Regions from separate parts of the Homo sapiens genome. Here all the other regions are linked to region 1. The links are contacts of gene promoters, found by promoter capture Hi-C in blood cells and fetal thymus (Javierre and others, 2016). All regions are on one chromosome and are shown on one strand. The core of a region is centred on a gene start or on the middle of the fragment in contact, and the rest is flanking DNA. Distances in the headings are between cores, read along the strand shown.

Region 1 (2,590 bases), core at 60-2,559:
AGAAACTAAGTACTTGACCAGAAGACAAAGTGAATATAGCATAGTTCACTGCAACCTGGATGTTTTCAACTGAAATCTATGTTTTATCCACTTTTTTAAAAAAGCCAATGCTGGTGGGGGGACTAACCACACCTTATGCCACCAAGTAGCGCTTTTGTTTCCTGCGAAGCTTATTTATTGAGATATCGTTTTGTAATACTATCTAGATACTGTGTGCTGCGATTCCTGTTTAAAGGAATCTCATTGCAGCTAAGACTACAGAAAACATGGTTCATAGTACTTCTCAAATCGCAAAGCTTGAGCTCCTTCCTCCTCCTCTTCCTCCCTCCCCTGGTCCCCGCTGCGTCCCCATCGCCCCGGAAAATAAAGCACACGCCGGATTTTCGGACGCATCATTGAGAGGCGGAGGGAGAGGAGGTAGTCTTCGAATTGTTGGACTTGCTATCCCATTCTGCCTGTGCAAAATAAACCCCCATAGTAAAATAATCTTAACCCGTGATAAAAATCGAGGACCCAATTCTCTTTGGTTCGCCTCTCTCCATCGCTATAAACTTCACTGCGGCCCTCAATGCACTCATTTCTACTCCAGAGCCGCCCTACCTGTGCCGAGACCCCCATTTGCAGCATGAGTTACTCTATGACCTTGGGCCCGCTCCCCTCCCAAACTGAAGGCTGTAAAACCAAGACCCCACATCGCGCCCCGCAAACTGCAGAGGCCTCCAGGCTCAGGCCGGGTCAGCGGGTTGCGCCAGGAGGCGGCGAGGGACTGGCTCCGGTGAAGCGCCGGGAAGAGAAAACGCAGGGGGCGGAGACGGGGCCCGGAGCTACCTGCGGGACCAGCACTGGCGCTGCCCCGGTGCTAGCAATGGCTGCGCGCCACCTCGGGGCTCCCGGAGCCCTCGCGGCAGTGCTGGGAACTCCGGCCCTGCCCCGTCGGCGGTCACGACCCCTTATGAACTTCGACCGCCCAGCAAACAGCGGCAGGTGGTGCGCGGACACGCGAGCACGTTAGCTGCCTACCTCAAGCGACGGCGTCTTGGAGCCTAGAGCCTCCCACCTCCCTCCCAGGGGCGCGAAGAGCTGGGACCGGAGCAGTAGGAAGGGGCGTGCGAGGCAACACGCCACCGAGGGTGGAACAGGAAGAGGGAGAACTGTCCGCTCCCTGAAGGGGCTGGCAAAAGAGAGGTGAAGACACAGGCGGCGGGGACCGTCAGGGACGCTCGCGTACCTTCCTTTTGCCTGGCGGAGGGTCAGACTAGCGCCAGCGGATCGCCTCACATCCGGGTATCAGGAGACACTCAGCTGCTTCTGCTGCGGCCGCCGCCTCCCCCGCGGCGCAAACACCAAACTTCCGGCGACGACGGCGACGCCTCGCTCGTCAGATGGGAGTTACCTGTGACCGTCTTGGGTGCGCTTGCGCAACGCTCCTCTTCAGCCCTAACCGGCTCAGCTGACGTGCCCAGAAGACGAAGATGGCCGCCACGCTCACTGCGTGTCACGCAGTTTTTCACCCCGGCCCGGACGGCTGGGCGTCGAGGAAAGGCGAGCTAGTGTCCATCCTCAGCGCAGGCGCGGTGGGAGGCCTAGCGCGCGCGCCTCCGCGGGTGGTCGCCTGGCAGGGAAGTGGCGGCGCCCCCTAGCGGCGGCCGCTTGTCGTTCCTGGGGTCATCGCTTTGAGCTGAAAACCACCCAGGCCCCCAGCGGTTGTGGTTTACCTTGGAAATTTGTCGCAACTGGTTGCCATGTAGGTTTTGGCTGCTTCTGTCTGCGATGTATAATCCAAGTGCCTTTGGTCTTCCATATGAGCCAATGTAAAGAAGGAGGGTGGGGCCGGGCGCGGTGGTTCACGCCTGTAATCCCAGCACTTTGGGAAGCAGAGGCGGGTGGATCATTTGAGGTTAGGAGTTCGAGACCAGCCTGGCCAACATGGCCAACATGGTGAAACCCCGTCTCTACTAGAAATACAAAAATTAGCCGGGTGGTAGTGGCGTGCGACTGTAATCCCAGCTACTCGAGAGGCTGAGGCGGGAGAATCCCTTGAGCCTGGGAGGCGGAGGTTGTGGTGAGCTGAGACTGGGCCACTGCACTCTAGTCTGGACGAGTGAGACCCTGTCTCAAATAAAAAAAAAAGGAGGGTGCAGTCCCTACACTGCCCTCCAGCACCTCCAAAAAATGCAGGGCTTCGCCCTCTCCTTGCACACTTTCTTCCTGTGTATCAGAGTGCAAGAATCATCAGAAATTGTAAAATATTCTGCTAGACTTAGTCAGACTGAGTGTTCAGACAAAGCTTTGGCTCGCTCTTGGACGCCTCTAGAGATAGAATCCAAGATTCTATCACTAGGATTCATGGTTCCCACACTTCTTTCTTTTGTGACAGGAAGGATCTTGCTGTGTAGCCCTGGCTGGTGTGCAGTGGCACAGTAACGGCTCACTGCAGCCTCGACTTGGGCTCAAGCGATCCCACCTGCCTCAGCCTCCCTGAGAACTGCATGTATGAAGCCCACGACACCATGCCAGGCTAATTTTTTTTTTTTTTTTTGAGATGGAGTCTCACTCTTGTCACCCAGGCTAGAGTGCAATGGCACGATCT
Region 2 (2,590 bases), core at 59-2,558, 200 kb after region 1:
AGAGGTAAGTAAACTTGAAAAATATTTTAAGTAAACATTTATTTCCTAGAAATAATACTTCTATATCATGAGATGGATTGTTTTTATTTTTGAAATTTAGTATCCAACTAAGGCTTTTCTGATTGAAAATAAAAATCTGACAGAGGCAACTTGAAACAGTTCTTGTCTTTCTGTGATCCTTTATATTTTAGCCATAGTCCTAGGTAAAGATAGGAGTTGAGTTTCATATTACTGTGGTGTAACCATCATGTTTTAGGAGCTAAAGGTGGGCTTGTCCAAGAATCAAGAATCATACTAGGGAAATTGAAGGACGAGGAATATAAATCCACTGGGTCAGAATCTTTCCTGATCTCTGTGACAGTTGGAAACTTTTTTTGTTGTTGTTTTGTCATAACTGAATTAGCATTTTTTAAGTTTTATTGTTTCTTGACCTTAATGTGAATATTTGAAGAGTTCATAATGCATGTTTATCACCATATGTGTGTATATATGCTTCATTTAATTTAGAATATATTCTTATAAAAGAGAAACACTTCTTAATATCATTGGAGTCTTGACTGGGGATCTCTCTGTATCTCTATTGTGAAGGATGTCTTGCTTTGTCTTACTTAACTACTCATTACTAAAAATGTATTTGAATCACACTTATTTTAGTATAGTGCAAGATTATTTAGAATAAATCAAATTCTAGCAAATTTAAATTAGGCAGAATGTTGCAATTTTGTCTAAAAAACACTCTCATCTGTGAGTGCTTAATGAGGACTTGAATTGCTGAGGGCTAAATTGGTGGATCAACCTGATTTTACTAATTAAAAAATTTAAAAAGATGCATATTGGAAAAGAGAAGCCTTTTCTAGTCTTATGTTACTTTTTCTTTTTTCTCTAATTGTATGTATTTTGAATTGTTGGACAGCTACTAAAGAGCCTGTGGTTTTTAAGGGTAAACAGGTCATCTATAATGTTGGAATTTTCTGCTGCCTAGAAATAACTTGAAATTAATTAATTAATTAATTAATTTTTGAGGCAGAGTCTCACTCTGTTGCCCAGGCTGAAGTGCAATGGCGTGTTCTCAGCTCACTGCAACCTCTGCCTCCTGGGATCAAGTGATTCTCATGCCTCAGCCTCCCCAGTAGCTGCGATTATAGGCGCCTGCTACCACACCTGGGTAATTTTTGTATTTTTAGTAGACACAGGGTTTTGCCATGTTGGCCGGGGTGGTCTCGAGCTCCTGACCTCAAGTGATGTGCCTGCCTCAGCCTCCCAAAGTGCTGAGATTACAGGTGTGAGCCACCGCGCCTAAGAACTTGAATTTTAAATTAGCATATTAGATATCTATGAACTATACAATAGTTTTATTACTATGATGTCTTTATGAATGAGATTATATAATTTGATGTTACTTTTGCACTAGTAATTTTTAAGTTGCATCTTTCTTGATTGTAAGTTTAGGAACCTAGTGTGTGTTACAAGTTTTGTTTTGGTAATTAAAGTTAATTTTAGTGTTTTGTATATAGAATATAATTACTTTATTTTCTTATTATTTTAGTTTTATTTGGTGGAATGGTATGAAATTTCTTGAGTTGAATATCTGATTTTTAATTTAGTGAATCCAGAAACTCCAATAGCAACAACTACTGAAAAACCAAAGTCCTTCTGATTACAGCTAATAAGGCAAGAAGCTGAAAAACCACATTTCTTTTTGCCTAAGTTTCTTTTTAAAGTTGCTTTCAGATTCAGAATTTAATCACCAACCTGGCAGCATGGGATTATTCATATATTTGCGTTTCTAGAGATTTTTGTTCACATGAGAGGTTTTGCAGAATGGGTTTGCGGCTGTGGAATTAGGAATGAAATTGGCACTGTTTTTCAAGAGTAATTTTCTTTCTTTCCTTTTTTTTTTTTTTTTTTTTTGAGACAGAGTCTCCCCCTGTTGCCCAGGCTGGAATGCAGTTGAGTGTTCTTGGCTCACTGCAACCTCCGCCTCCCGGTTCAAGTGATTGTTGTGCCTCAGCCTCCCGAGTAGCTGAGATTACAGATGTGCACCATTACGCTGGGCTAATTTTTGTATTTTTAGTAGAGTTGGGGTTTCGCCATGTTGGCCAGGCTGATCTCTAACTCCTGACCTCGAGTGATTTCGCTTACCTCAGCCTCCTGAAATGCTGGGATTACTGGCATGAGCCCCATGCCTGGCCAGATTTTTTTTTTTTTTTTGATACAGGGTCTTGCTCTGCCCTGACTGGAGTGCAGTGGCATGATTATGGCTCACTGCAGCCTTGAATTCCCAGGCTCAAACAATTCTCCCACTTCAGCCTCCCAGGTAGCTAGGACTACAGGTGTGTGCCATCATGCTTGGCTAATTTTTAAAAATTTTTATAAAGAGATGGTCTCACTATGTTGCCCAGTTTGGTCTCAAACTCCTGGACTCAAGTGATCCTCCTGCCTTGGCTTCCCAAAGTGTTGGAATTACAAGTGTGAGCCATTGCGCCCAGCCTCTTTTTTTCTTAATTGTACTCAAATACAAAACAAACAGTTAGTTAATACTATAAACATGGTATGATGGGAGTTGAAGTGAGTCTTGGTAGTCTAGATA
Region 3 (2,590 bases), core at 35-2,534, 170 kb after region 1:
TCATCCTGGAAGCGCCCTTTGAAGCCCTGTGATTAACAAAGATGCCTTTGCCTCTTTTCCTGGCTGGATCTCATGTTTTCTGTATCCCATTAGATATCTTACTTAGCTTACTGTCTCTTTTGGTAGGACACACATTCTAGTAACTTCTTTTGAAAGAGTATGTGAGAAGTCAAATTTTAATTGACTGTGTATTTTTCCTCATAGTTAATTATATGGTCAGAGGGGGCTGGAAGTCATCTTTCCTCATCAGCTTTTGAAGGCATTTGCTGTTTGAAGCCACATAAATGGAACTTCCTGGTTTTTTCTGTATTGGCACTTTTTTGGGATAAAAGAAGGCATTCTTGAGGCTTTGAGTCATTCTGTTACATTTTTGGTTTGCTTTGATTTAACACATGTTGTGTTTTAAGAACAAAATGAGGGCCAGGCATGGTGGCTCACGCCTGTAATCCCAGCACTTTGGGAGGCTGAGGCGGGTGGATCATTTGAGGTCAGGAGTTTGAGACTAACCTGGCCAACATGGTGAGACCCTGTCTCCACTAAAAATACAAAAATTAGCCAGGCATGGTGGTACATGCCTATAGTCCCAGCTACCAGGGAGGCTGAGGCAGGAGAATCACTTGAACCTGGGAGGCAGAGGTAGCAGTGAGCCAAGATTGTGCCACTGCACTCCACCCTGGGTGACAGAGTGAGACTCCATCTCAAAACAGACAAACGAAAAGAACAAAATGAAGAAAAAGAAATGAAACCATCTTGTACATGTGACTCCAAGTGAGGGAACTTTATAAAATAAATCTTTAGAGTAACATTGTTAAGCACATTGTTTAAGACCAAGTGTAACTTCTGTTGTCTGACTTTTTTGTTTTGGCCTATGTATGTGAATGAAGAAAGTTAACATCCCTTTTTCCCCTTCAGTGCTGGATGCTTTATCCCACTCCCCTGATGTAACCCACGTTAATTGTATGTAGTGTATTCTTCCTTTTTGTTTTTCTAATATATATTAGAGATGGAGTCTTGCTGTGTTGCCCAGGCTGGTCTCGAACTCCTGGGTTCAAGCGATCCTCCTGCCTCCACCTCCCAAAGTGCTGGGATTACAGGCATGAGCCACCGCGCCCAGCCTATTCTTAAAGGGCTTTTTAAGTCTCACTATACGTGTTAGTCTTTTAAAGCTGTTTGTTTTACAAATATGATTAAGTATACTAGATCATATTTGTTTTTTTGTTAAGCTCTTTATTATGGAGTATTTCAGACATACACTTGAGTAGAAAGTATAGTATAATAAATTCCCATGCACTCATACCCAACTTCAACAATTATTAACTTAAAAAAATACCATTTATTTGTTGAAGAAACCAGATTCTATTTGGCCAATTGATTCTTTATAGTATTCTTTAACTTCTTTAACTTGTTCTTTTAATCTTTGTATTTCCTATAAATTAGTTGTTAGATCTAGAGGCTTGATTAGATAGATTCAGGTTCAATTTTATTTTGGCAAACATACCTCATATGTGATGCTGTGTATTTTCTATTGTATCATATAAAGGGGCACATAAAGTCTGATTATTCTGCTATTAGTGATGTTAAGATTGATGAACAGGTGCAAATTTTGTCAGATGTATCCTTTACAGAGTTTCTTGGCAACATTATACCTAATGGTTTTAACAGCTGTTCCTTACATGTGAAATTACTGTAGTTATTTTCTTATGCCCTCCACTTTGTTTCCTCCTCAATAATAAATCAAGTCATATTAACAAATGAAGGAATTTCATTTAATGATTTGGAGCTTGACTAATGAACTTACTTCTATTTCAAGTAATTTGAAATTTAAAGTAAATTTGATTTAAAATTTGTCTTTGTTTTTTAGCTAGCCAAATGCTTTTTTACTCATCCTATAAAATACAGACTTAATATAGCATCACATTTTTTAAAACAAATGAAGTTGAATCTGAATATATTAGAATCAGAAGGAACTTTTTGCTACAGATTGCATGTTTTACCTTCGAGTGCTAGAAACTGTTACTTTAGAAGGTTATGTAGTGGTTAGTTGAGCAGGAATCATAAAGCAAATTAAGGTAAATGGTGGACTCTTAACTTCAGGATGGTAGTTACCTCTAATGGAAGGCAGGAGGATGGGATTGATGAGATGGACATAGGGGACTTGAAAAGTACTGGTTCTATTTTTTTTCTTAGGTTGGGTAATAATTACATGGGTGTTCAGTTTATTTTTTTATTCCTTAAAGTTTACATATGCTTTGGGAGGCTGAGGTAGGCAGATCACAAGATCAGGAGTTTGAGACCAGCCTGGCCAACATGGCGAAACCCCATCTCTACTTAAAAAAAAAAACGAAAATTAGCCGGGCATGGTGGTGGGCACCTGTAATCCCAGCTACTTGGGAGGCTGAGGCAGGAGAACCACTTGAACCGGGGAGGCGGAGGTTGCAGTGAGCCGAGATCGTGCCATTGCACTCCAGCCTGGGTGACAAGAGCAAAAAAAAAAATTTACATATGCTGTATTTTATAATGTGTAATGTATTTCAAAATTTAAAAGAGTAAATGGACTAAATTACTAACAATTTAAAATATGTTTCAAGTG

The links. The method cuts DNA at HindIII sites, captures the fragments that hold promoters and counts their contacts. A CHiCAGO score of 5 or more calls a contact.
Region 2: a fragment that was not itself captured here is called in contact with the fragment with the promoter of ESCO1 in region 1 in 1 of 17 cell types (activated CD4 T cells); the score reaches 6.5 in activated CD4 T cells.
Region 3: a contact is called between a fragment that was not itself captured here and the fragment with the promoter of ESCO1 in region 1, in 1 of 17 cell types (neutrophils). The highest score is 5.0, in neutrophils.

What each region holds. Positions count from the first base shown.
Region 1 is chr18:21,599,395-21,601,984 of GRCh38, forward strand. ESCO1 (establishment of sister chromatid cohesion N-acetyltransferase 1) reads right to left here and starts at 1,310. Exons shown (of 12, transcript NM_052911.3): 1 at 1,229-1,310. RefSeq lists an enhancer at 1,016-1,535. The HindIII fragment of the contact is 1,991 bases long and covers 295-2,285 here.
Region 2 is chr18:21,804,011-21,806,600 of GRCh38, forward strand. It overlaps MIB1 (MIB E3 ubiquitin protein ligase 1), which reads left to right. Exons shown (of 21, transcript NM_020774.4): 10 at 1-4. Among named protein-coding and RNA genes, the nearest start is that of MIR133A1, 20 kb to the right of the region's middle. The HindIII fragment of the contact is 5,677 bases long and covers 1-2,590 here.
Region 3 is chr18:21,769,504-21,772,093 of GRCh38, forward strand. The region is part of intron 3 of MIB1 (MIB E3 ubiquitin protein ligase 1); the gene reads left to right. Among named protein-coding and RNA genes, the nearest start is that of MIB1, 30 kb to the left of the region's middle. The HindIII fragment of the contact is 4,780 bases long and covers 1-2,590 here.